Regions from separate parts of the Homo sapiens genome. Here regions 2 and 3 are each linked to region 1. Evidence: promoter capture Hi-C in 16 types of primary human blood cells and fetal thymus (Javierre and others, 2016). All regions are on one chromosome and are shown on one strand. Each heading gives the region's core, a stretch centred on a gene start or on the middle of the fragment in contact. The rest is flanking DNA. Distances are from core to core; before and after follow the strand shown. Region 1 holds the start of TMEM81 (transmembrane protein 81). Region 2 overlaps TMCC2 (transmembrane and coiled-coil domain family 2). Region 3 overlaps TMCC2 (transmembrane and coiled-coil domain family 2).

What was found. Contacts are between HindIII fragments. The CHiCAGO score rates a contact against its expected background, and 5 or more counts as called.
Region 2: a contact is called between a fragment that was not itself captured here and the fragment with the promoter of TMEM81 in region 1, in 1 of 17 cell types (endothelial precursors). The highest score is 5.6, in endothelial precursors.
Region 3: a fragment that was not itself captured here is called in contact with the fragment with the promoter of TMEM81 in region 1 in 2 of 17 cell types (endothelial precursors and megakaryocytes); the score reaches 5.5 in endothelial precursors.

The regions. Positions count from the first base shown.
Region 1 is chr1:205,082,095-205,085,998 of GRCh38, forward strand. TMEM81 (transmembrane protein 81) reads right to left here and starts at 2,366. Exons shown (of 1, transcript NM_203376.2): 1 at 1,035-2,366. The coding sequence starts at 2,226. The coding sequence ends at 1,459. The HindIII fragment of the contact is 2,208 bases long and covers 1,879-3,904 here.
Region 2 is chr1:205,239,544-205,243,469 of GRCh38, forward strand. TMCC2 (transmembrane and coiled-coil domain family 2) reads left to right here. Exons shown (of 5, transcript NM_014858.4): 2 at 1,962-2,501. Among named protein-coding and RNA genes, the nearest start is that of TMCC2-AS1, 4.2 kb to the left of the region's middle. The HindIII fragment of the contact is 6,983 bases long and covers 1-3,926 here.
Region 3 is chr1:205,258,612-205,262,539 of GRCh38, forward strand. All of the region lies in intron 2 of TMCC2 (transmembrane and coiled-coil domain family 2), which reads left to right. Among named protein-coding and RNA genes, the nearest start is that of TMCC2-AS1, 23 kb to the left of the region's middle. The HindIII fragment of the contact is 1,978 bases long and covers 568-2,545 here.

The DNA of each region.
Region 1 (3,904 bases), core at 1,116-3,615:
CCACCGCGCCTGGCCAGAAATTGTTAATTTTCTTAGTGTGATAAAGATATTGTGGTTACAGAGAACATCCTTATTAGGAGATGCATACATGGTTTAAGAGTTAAGAGTTGCAATGTCTGTGACTAGCTTTCAAATGGTTTAACAAAATCAATCTATATTGAGAAAGATAATTGTGACAAAATGTTAATTCCTGGTGAATTTTGGTAAAGGTTCTATGCATGGTCACCAAACATTTCTTTCAGCTTTTCTATGGGTTTGAAATTTTTACAAGTTAAAAGTAAAATAAATAATAGAGATCCTTTGACCATAATTTAAACTGAATTAGCATTGTCAGGATTAGAGCTCAAGAACCTTTATTTTTCACAAGGTCATCCAGATGATTCTAACACACATCTAGAGAATCGCTGGTCTTTGGTTTCTGCTACCTCCTGTAGTCAGAGAAAAGTGAGAGGAAGAAATGTTGTAATTCTCTCAGTAGAATTAGCTCAGCTGGTGGCCAAGAGTCTTTCCCTGATGGTTCCACAAGCCAATTATCTCAGACACGGTCCGAATGGCCTCGGAGTCTTAAGACTGGATTTCCTATGGAGGAATCAAAGTACTAATCCTCCTTTGGGGGCCTTGGCTGCTGTAAGAAACCAATACTTGACCCTCCCAGGAATAGAAGCTTCAGGGCACTGAAAGAGCTAAAAGGACTGGAGTGGAGGCAAGCCAAGGTGCTGTCTGAATGGTAAGAGGAAACCTACCAGGTGAAGGATCTAGTGTTTTGCCAAGAAATTCAATTTAATACCAAACAGGGGATTTACCTGGGCAGAACAGGCAATTTGTTAATATTTAGTGACTGTTACACACCTGAGTTGGATGTCATTACTAACAACCCCTGCCATAGGCTTATGCACTGCACCCCCTGCCCCCAAAAGCAGACAATTGGTTTAATGTCTATTCTAAGAAACCTGAGGAAAATGAAGCCAGACTGATTATGGGACAATTTAAATAAATACAAGAAACTGAAGAGCAGAAAAAGGTCTCCATACAGCTACTGTGAATTACTTTTATTGAAAAAAAATGTTCACTAAAAAGGCTGAATACATCCCTCTACATGAATACACAGCTCAGAAGAGGGGAAATGGAGGTGGGGAGGCATCCAAGTCATAAAGGGTAGAAAATGAATGCAAGCTTCTTAGAACTCTTCCCAGGAACACAGGCAATGCTTGCAGTTTCCTGGGTACCCAATGGGCAGGGAAGATCAGGAAGAGATCCATGGGACATAAGGAAGTTAGGTTACTGCGCATAGCTCCCAGGAGATTGTCCCCTCCATTTCTCCCACTCATTCTTTTGGCTGTGGGAGTGTTCCCTCTAAGCTGATCCACTACCAGCAGCTGGAACACTCCCCTAAAAAGCTAGCTTGGCTTCCTGGGCAGCCAGTTCTTCAGGAGCAAGGCTGTTAAGTTCTTGAAGCTGTCACTGCTGCAGGCCCCCCCTTAGCGCACAGAGGACAATCCTCACCAACACGCCACCAACCACTCCAATGGCAATTCCTATTCCCAAGGCTGACGCCACCTTCTTTTTCCACTTTGGGTGGTGAGGCTTGGAGTAGCTGTCCAGATTAACTTCCAATCCCTCATCTATTAACTTCTGATCCTCAGTAAGTGACTGATGGAAATTCAGATTCACCAAGTTAGGAGGAAGGACCCTCAACCCAAAATAGAGCCTCTTGACGAGTCTCAAGTTTTTTACCAGCTGCACATCACAGCGATATGTCCCAGAGTCATACTCCTGAGCATATTTAAACTTCACAAAGTGGGAGTTGGCTTGAAAGGGTTTGAAGACCTCATCGTCAGTGGAGATGACACCTCGAGCAAGTCTCCAGGTGAACCGGAAAGCTTCCTGTCCAAACTCCAAGATGTCTGAACTCAGACAGCTAAGCTCAAATTCCTTGCCAATGAGAATGGTGAAATGGAGCATCCCACAGATCCAGTTGGTCAGACATTCTAAGCGCCGAGTCTGACATTTCCTTCTCACTCCATCAGGGCCCACCTCACAGACGGTCTCCTCCTTATAGCCAAGGCCACAGGTGACAGTACAGGTTGTGGCATTGATGATAACTTTCCCCACAGCTTCTTGCAGCTTCTCAGGGATGGCCAGTGTTTTAGGTGTAGTCACCACCAAAGGCAGGTAGAAGGCCAACCCCAGGCTCCCAAGGACAAAACTAGTGGCTAAAACCTTCATGTCTCGGTAGGCGTTTTGCCACCCTCAGCCAGCACCCACAAGGTATTCCAGCTGAATCCTCTATAAATCATAACTTGATTCCTTTGACATGAGATATCCTTCAAAGTCAAAAGATATGATGCATGTATTGTCAATAAAACAACACAACTTAATAAATAAAAGTCCAGTCCTTATAAACAGGTGAGGCCACAAGGCAGGAAAAAAATCACAATGGTGTTGCTTTACTAACTATCGTTGTTAATAAAATAACCACCTTACCTACTAGTCTTCACGCTTTTTTTTTTTTTTTTTTTTTTTGAGGCAGGGCCTCACTGTCAACCCAGGCTGGAGTGCAGTAACATGATCACAGCTCACTGCAGCCTCAACCTCCTAGGCTCAAGTGATCCTGCCACCTCAGCCTCCTAGGTAGCTGGGACTACAGGTGCAGGCTATCACACCTGGCTAATTTTTCTATTTTTTGTAGATACGGGGTTTCACCATGTTGTCGAGGCTTGTCTCCAACTCCTGGGTTCAAGCAATTCACCCACCTCAGCCCCCCAAAGTGCTGGGATTACAGGCATGAGCCACCGCGCTGGCCGTTTTCGTGTTCTCTTAATGACTTTAAATCCACCTCTTGGGAAGACAAAGAAGAAAAGACTTCAGAAACTGAAGTAAATTTCCAGATTACCTCAAATGCATAGTGAAGTTACACTCTTCCTCACCCTTCCCCTTCCCCTCTATAAACTAGGATCTAAATTAAGGGTTTCAAAAGCCCCAGTTAAATGTCACCAAATAAAACAAATACTAAAGTCTAAAAAAAGGAAGATTAACTTGAATTATTTTAATGTTCCTAAACTTCCTATAAAAAGGATTAAGAACTCTGGACTAGGAGGCAAGTAACTTACCCTTCCTGAATTTCTGTTTCCTCCTTTGTAACTTAAGACCTCCTTGCCTATCTGAGGAAGGTCACTTAGAGCACTGAATGATATACTGTATGTGAGAACACTTTGTAAAGTGTGAAACACTGTTCAATGTGTAAGGAATTTTAAATAGAAATGGAAATTCATAAAGACAAGGGCCAAGATGACCTTTTCAAATCAGAATGTTTAAGGTTGTGTTAAAGGCAGCTCCTCTCCCCCTTTTAGGCACTCTTCCTTCCCAAGGATACTGAAGATATATTTTGAGTGAGAGGATGCATGATGCTCCCTGACTCTTGGCCTACTCCCTTTATCCTACAGAATAGAGCTCATTATTCACGTAGGTCAAGGTTGCTATGAAACAGCTATGATGTCAAAGATGGAGTTCTCAATCACATAAGATTAATAAGTAGACCCTCAAATTTGACATTAAAATCAAAGACTTACATAGACTTTGTGAAACATCTTATCTTTAGGAGACAACGAGCATTTAATAAATTTTAAAGCTGCTTCATTCAAAAAAAAAAAAAGGCTAATAAGAATTCAACCGTACTTACTTAGACTTGAAGAAAGGTCCTTGGAAGACAGGAACTTCCTAGCATGCATTTTTGTAACCTCCAGAATGCCTAGCCCTACGGCCTCTTCAGAGTAATTGCAAAACTATATTGAGTTAAATAATTGGAAGACAGATCATTCCTAGATGATCTTTTTGATCAACAACTTTTCCACTTGCATCATTTATTTACAATCTCATCTAGAGGCAGAAATCTAGACTACCTGTC
Region 2 (3,926 bases), core at 225-2,724, 160 kb after region 1:
AATCATGGTAGCCTTAATTTCCTCTTCTCTAAATGGAGATGTTTCCGTTGTTGCTTTTGTTACTATTTAGGAGAATCAATGGGATAATGCAGGATACAAATCTCCTTTGAAATGAAAAACCGTTAGTTCGTGATGAGTTGTGATGATGTAATTTATCTGGTCTGTAAAATGGGTGATGTAAGGGCCTCATCTACTTTAAGGATTCTGGGGATACTCAAATGAGGTGAAAAATGAAAATCCTAAAATTTTACACAAATACATAATAGTACAGTTATTGTATCCAGCTGTAAGCGCAGCCATCTGCACAAACTCAAGGCTGAGTTGTAAAGTAACCTAAGAGTGGGGTCAGCTCATTTAGAGGATGTCAGGTTGCTTTTTCTTGGTTTCTATATGGTCTAGATTTTCTGCTCTGTAAGTTTGTTTCTAGGGAAAAAAAAAAAGAAAATCCAGTCTGTGTAATTTTTTGGAACATTTTTTAAATGACTGAGGCAGCCTGGTAAGATTGTGGGTTGTTCCTCACAGGAAATCCTGCTATGGCTCATTGAGTCCCAAATGGCTGGGCCCTGAGTTTTCCTCTAAGGAGCTGCAGAATGTGAGGTGTCTCCTGGTCCTCCAAGTCTCACCCCTCCTTCCAACAGCTCCAAAGCTCTCATAGAGGGCTCAACCTGGCCGGATAAGCCGTCCCCTGACAGAAGCAGCTGTCTGGAATTATACCACAGTTGCTCGCCCTGGCAGGCCATCCAGCTGCCCCTCTGTGAGCAGTCTTGCCGGAAGAGCAGCTGGAGAATCTCAGCAACAGGGCTAAGAGGAAAGGCTGTGGCCTGGGCGGCACCGGGTTGCAGTGCCTCTATGCTTTGGATCTAAGGGGAAAGACACTCATTTGGATAGCTTGTTCTGATGTGTATGCTAAAGAATTGGTCACATTACTATGTCACAAGGTTTGCTCATAGAAGTAAAGTTTATTTCATTGCCAACCATATCAGGAATGAAATTGGTTGCAAATAACAGAAAATCATACTAGAGTTGTGTAGACAAAGATGGGTTTATTTCATGCAACAAGAATCCCAGGATAGATGTTCACAACTGGTTTGGTGGCTCCATAGACCTTCAAGTTCCCAGGCCTGTCCCTTGGGCTCCACCATCTGTGTGCAGACCCTCATCGTCAACCATGTCATCTTGTGGTTGCAGAATGGCCACTGCATCTCCAGGCACTACGTTCCCATTCCAGATGGGAAGATTTGGGAAGGGCCAGTGCCTTTATCAGGAAAGCAAAAGTGCTCCCAGAAGCTCTCACCTTGCTTTTCGTTGGCCCAAACTGTGTCATGTGGCTACTCCTAGCTGCAAGGGGAGTCTGATGAAGCAGGAATTTTTAGCAAGGTGAGTTAAGTCCTTGCAGTTTGGTTGGTAAGAAAGAAAAATAGATATTGGGTAGGCAATTAGCAGTGTCTGCTACAACAGTATAACTTGATTGTATGACCCTGATTTTACTGGGGGAATGTTGGAATTAGGCAACTTTGGAAATCGATGCTTGGTGGCCTGAAAGAACTAGTACAGCTTGAAGGGTCGTCTAACTTGGAAGGAGGGAAGGACTGGGGGTGGGGATCAATCTAGAGGGATACAACCCCATGAGCCAAGTGCTACCTGTGTATGCCATTAAGCCCCAGACTGAAGCCCTGAGAGCATCATTCCTAGAAACTCTGAACCTTCATTTTGATTAGGAATGTCCCGTGGAAAACCGTGGGGGCACACTTCTTTCGGAATGAAAGGATGGGTCTGGGTTGCCACCTTTTCGCAAACTGACCCTTTATGCACGACGGGCCATCCACAGAGATCTTCCAGGTTCAGATGGCTGCATTAGCTATGCCAGTCTACCAAGGACAGACCCTTCACCTTCACCCTCCTACTGACTAGGCAATCAAGAGCTTTCCACTCACCAGGGTTCTTCATCTCTCCCCCTTAAGAAAATCCAGCAGCTGTCAGAGGGCTCCATGTTTGGCCACGGTCTGAAGCACCTGTTCCACAGCCGCCGTCGGTCTCGGGAAAGGGAGCACCAGACGTCTCAGGATTCCCAGCAGCATCAGCAGCAGCAGGGTATGTCCGACCATGACTCCCCAGATGAGAAGGAGCGCTCTCCGGAGATGCATCGCGTCTCCTACGCCATGTCCCTGCACGACCTGCCCGCCCGGCCCACCGCCTTCAACCGCGTGCTGCAGCAGATCCGCTCCCGGCCCTCCATCAAGCGGGGCGCCAGCCTGCACAGCAGCAGTGGGGGCGGCAGCAGCGGGAGCAGCAGCCGGCGCACCAAGAGTAGCTCCCTGGAGCCCCAGCGTGGCAGCCCTCACCTGCTGCGCAAGGCCCCCCAGGACAGCAGCCTGGCCGCCATCCTGCACCAGCACCAGTGCCGTCCCCGCTCTTCCTCCACCACCGACACTGCTCTGCTGCTGGCCGACGGCAGCAACGTGTACCTCCTGGCTGAGGAGGCCGAAGGCATCGGGGACAAGGTGAGATGGGCCTTCTGGGGCAGGGGGAGACTCAGAGGCAAGGGCCATCCGCTGAGGGGCCTTGAGACCTGGGGAGCTGAGCCAGGGGCCCTCCCTGGCAGATACTGACACCCCACCGTCTGCAGAGTTATCTACCTTGGTTAAAGGAGTCGGGTATGACTAGGCCAAAAACAAGAGATGATTCCCAGGATGGCTAATTTTTGTTTCCTTAGGGCTGTTTTTCAAAATTGTGTTTTGCTCATGCTGATATTAATGTTGACTTGTTTTCCTTAAATGGGCTATCAAGAGGCAATAGGTATAGTAGTTTAAAGCACAGACTGGAAGCAACTCTGGTTCTGCCACTTACTCAGTTAACCTCTTTGTGCTTGTTTCACCAATTGAAAATGAGGATAATAATAGTACAGTTGTAGGACTAAATGAGTTAATATATGTAAAATACTTGGAATAGAGCCTGGCATAGTATCATCTTTACTATTGGCACCAACCAAAGAAGATAGGGGATCCATGAAGGGTGATTTGGGAAGGAGAAAAGCTAGTTTAGCACTTCATGAATTTATATATTCGTTCTTTTATTCGTGTAACAAGTATCTATTGAATTCTTATGTTGTGCTACAAGAATGAACAAGCCAGTGTTGCTGTCCTTGTGGAGCTCACTCTAGAGGGGGTACAAGTGGGTGAATGGACAGAGAGATGGGAGCTGCTGTGGGAGCTTCAAGGGAGAGGGGACTTGAGGAGAGAGCGAGGAGCTGGCAAAGACCTGTTTGAGGAAACCATTGAGCTGAATCTTGAATAATTTAGCCAGGGAAGAACTGGGAGAGGGGAAGGGGGAAGAGAGGGCATAGTATGTACAAAAGCACACAAGCTGGTGCTAGGGGCTACTGGGGGTTCATTATGGCCAGAGCATCTAGCACTTTTGGGGATTGACAGGTAGGCAGAGGCCACATCACAAAAGGCCTTGCCATGTTGATTCTGGGAGTAGTGTGAAGCTATCAAAGGGTGCTAGGCAGGAAACTGGCAGGACGAGGTTCCTCTAGGTCTCAATATAAAGAGTAGATTGGGGCCAGGCACATGGCTCACACCTGTAATCCCAGAACTCTGGGAGGCCGAGGTGGGTGGATCACTTGAGGGCAGGAGTTCAAGATCACTCTGGCCTACATGGTGAAACCCCGTCCCTACTAAAAGTACAAAAATTAGCCAGGCATGGTGGTGGGCGACTGTAATCCCAGCTCCTCAGGAGGCTGAGGCAGGAGAATTGCTTGAACCTGGGAGGCGGAGGTTGTAGTGAGCCAAGATCGAGCCACTGCACTCCAGCCTGGGAGACAGAGCGAGACTTCGTCTCAAAAAAAAAGAAAAAACCAACAAAAAAAATCAGTAGATTGGGAAGGGAGTGCAGGACGGGAGTCAAGGAGACTTTGGAGCTAGTGC
Region 3 (3,928 bases), core at 307-2,806, 180 kb after region 1:
AGAGAGCCACCAGCCCCACCGGGCTATTCCTGCTGAGTTGAAAAAATGGAATGGGGAAAGCCTCTGACTTCAGGACCAAGGGTTGGAATAATTTTTCCACCCTGCTCTTGCTGGAATGTTGGGTTGGTACAAGAAATTTCAAGTTCCTTCTCTCCCAACTTTACCGTAAGGTCACATGACCTCTTTGGGTTGAAGGATTTTAGCTGGCTGTAGGCTTTCCTCTCCATCCTAGTCTGGTTGACCTCCCCTTCCATCTGAGAATGGGTAGAAAAAGGGAATCTGAGCGTTCTTTATCCCGAGAGGGCCACTGAAATCAGAGTCACGGGGCAGCAGTCAGCAGATTGAAGCATCTCTGCTGAGTCACCCAGGCCTGCCAGCCCCGGGGCCGCACTCGCCTGCTGGGCTCTGACCCACTGGGAGCCCAGACCTTGCTCCCAGGAGCGGTGTTCTGCACAGGCCTGGGCCTGCTTGTCTAGACCCATAGACAAGCCAGGGTTGACACCTGACTCCATTGTCAGGATGACTGGGCTGCCCTGCTTTCCTAAAGGGAAGCATAGGAACCCCCAAAGCTTTTTCTTTGTCTTTTTTTTTTTTCCATCTAAGAGTGACCTTATATTGTCTTTCCAACTCCTGAGCAGATGGCTAACATGAGAAGGCCCCTTTCTCCCTGTCAGCCTGCTGTGGGGACCCTAACGGGTTCTTTGCGAGTCTGGGAAGGGGCTGCCTGCCTCAGAGGGAGGAGGGTCAGAGGTACAGCTTTCTCGTGCAGCTGGGAGCACAGGTGTGGAGCACATGTTCCTTGCAAATGGCAGCTGTTTCTGTGGTCTATCTTGAAAACTGCTTAATGCATTTACATTATGAAGAAAGAGAACCACGATTCACATTTCCCAATTTACATAGCTAGTGCCCTTCCCCTCCCTCCACACAGCTTCACTTAAGCCTGGATACTTTCTGTTCCAACAGTGTCTACTGTGTGCCTCCCGGATATCGGGGATCCAGGCTGCTGGGCTAGTGTGTGAGAGGAAGCACCGGTGTCCCATGTCCAGGGCCGGGTTGACACGAGGACACTGAGTTCAGGCCCTGGGAGGAGGTGGAAACCCCAGGAAGTTCCACGGGAGCCAGGGCTGGGAAGCCCTGATCCGGCAGCTCCTTATAATCTGGCAGAGAGCCTAATCCAGCTTCATTTAGTGTTGTGAAAGGGGCCAGGGAGGTGAGTCCGGGGTGCCACCAAGGCCATGTGGAGGGGAGCCCCCAGGTGTGCGTGGGCTGAGGGTAGATCTCACTGGAGCAGGAAGAGGAATAGGGAAAGTTGGGTCTTGGACACTTGAGAGAACGTCCCAGCTCTGGCTTATCCAGACATTTGTCAGCACTTCTCAGCCCTCAGCCTTTGTGTAGAGCAAGATGTAAGGCCCTGGCTGGTAGGGTCCCTGAGCAGGGGGCATTCTGGTGTGGAGGGGGATCATGGAAGAAGTATGACTCTCCCTCCACGGTTCTCCTCTTAGAGCTTGCCCAGCCCATTCACAAGGATTAATCTGGAGTCAGGTACCTGTGGAGTGGCCAGCCTATCTCAGGCAGGTTGGGGTGGGGTGAGGAGGTCATGGTGTGGGGGCCACAACTCCAGGTGTGGTGCTGGTGGCTGGGCATGGATAGGGAGCTGGGTGGCATGGGCCAAACAGGACTCTGTGATGGTCTGGAGAGAGGAGCAGTGGTTCCTGTGTAGCCCACCTGTGCCCTGCTTTGGGCTGGGGAACCTTGGGCATTTCTGCCTGCTACTGACTGGGAGTTGAGTGATCTGGTCTTTTTAGTCAACCAGCTGCACGACAGGGGTATTAGGAGTGTGTTAGGAAGAGCTGCTACCCTACTAAACCTGACACAGTGAGCTGAAGGACCCAGAGACCCTCCTGCATACCCACTCTGTAATGGACAATGGTGGGAGCTGTGGCCCAGGCCAGTGGAGGACCCTGGCCTTCCACACCCAATTGTTGAAACATCACCTCCATCTAGTTCCTAAACATTTTCAGCAACCCCAAGGAAACCCTGTACCCATTAAGCTGTTACTCCCCATTCCTTCCCCCACCCCCACCCCAGCCCCCTGGCAGCCACTAATCAGCTTTCTGTCTCTGTGGATTTAACTGTTCTGGATATTTCATATAATGGAATCATTCATTATGTGGCCTTTCTTGTCTGGTTTGTTTCACTTAGCCTAACATTATTGAGGTTCACCCATGTTGGAGCATTACCGGCACTTTGTTTCTTTCATGGCCGAATAGTATTTCATTGCAAGAAATGTCACATTTTGTTGACCCATTCATCAGTTAATGGACATCTGAGTTATGTCCACCTTTTGGCTATTGTGAATATTGCTGCTATGAGCATTTGTGTACAAATGAGTGTTGAATACTCATTTTCAATTCGTTTGGGAATTGAAAATATCTAGGAGTGGAATTGCTGGGTCATAAAGTAATTCTATGTTAACTTTTTGAGGAACTCCCAAACTGTTTTCCACATCAGCTGTGCTGTTTTATGTTTTAGGTATGTTGCACAAAGCTTCCAATTCCTGCACATGCTCACCAACACTTATTTCCTTTTTTTTTTTTTTTTTTTTTTGAAGCAGGGTCTCACTCTGTTGCCCAGGCTGGAGTGCAGTGGTGTGTGTGATCATAGCTCACTGCAGCCTCGAACTCCTGGGCTCAAGCCATCCTCCTGCCTCAGCTTCCTGAGTAGCTGGGACTACAGGCATGCACCACCACACCTGGCTGTTTTTTTATTTTTTGTAGAGACAGGTCTTGCTGTGTTGCCCAGGCTGGTCTTAAACTCCTGGACTCAAGCAATTTTCCCATTTTGGCCTCCAAAAGTGCTGGGACCACAGGTGTGAGCCGCTGTGTGCAGCCCACTTATTTCCTTTCTAAAAATTACTAGGGGCTGGGCTTGGTGACTCATGCCTGTGGCCCCAGCTACTTAGGAAGCTGAGGTGGGAGGATTGCTTAAGCCTGGGACGTCGAGACTACAGTGATCCACGATCATGCCATTGCACTCCAGTCTAGGCCATGGAGTGAGAACCCGTCTCAAAAAAAAAAAAATTATTATAGTCATTCTAAGGGTGTGAAGCGTCTCTTAATTTGTTCGTATTTGTTTCTAAGCACCTGCTTTATGCCCTTTACTCAGTGTTTCATCTCATCGTCCTGATAGCTCTCAGCTGGTAAGTGACAGAGCCAGGATCTAAATTAGTGCCCAACTCCAACTTTAAAGCCCTTTCCTTTACCTTCCGCAGACCCTGTATCCTGTCTCATGGCTGTTCTTTTTGGCAAGTCTTTCTCCTTTTCTCACCCTCTGTCCTGTTCCAGCACTCTGAACAGCTTTCTCATCTTTTTCTTCTTGTTCACTAATTTTCTTTCCTTTGTTAAAGCATAATCTTTCCTTTGTTAAAGCTGTCCCTATCTGTGTACCAGCTCCTTGGCTCTGTTTACCTTGGTTGCCCTCTCTCCATCGAGTCCTGAAAGGTAGCTGTCACCCTGGGTACATGTGCTGGGGAAGGCAGGGCATGGAGAGCTCCCCACCTTCTTCAGACATGCCAGCTCCCTCCACGGGGAAGGAGAGCAAAGTGATGTTCTGTGATTGGAGACCCAACAGCAGATCCCAGGCATTGTAAACCTCTGTGAGGGGTAGGAAAAAGCCGGCGTCCTGCTGCAGGACTCCCAGGCTGGAATCTTGACCCTGGGGTAGAGAAGAGGGGCTAGCAAGAGGACCAGGATCCCAGCCCAAGGCCCCTCCACACACCAGGCCCAGGAGTGTCTCTTCTCTCATTCCTGGGGATTTCCCAGCCAGCTCCGACTCTGCTTCTCAGAGTTGTAACTAGACAGCTCAGCCTCTCAGGGATCTGGAGGTCTTGGGTTTCCTCCAGGGATGGGGGCAGGGACTAAAGATCCTG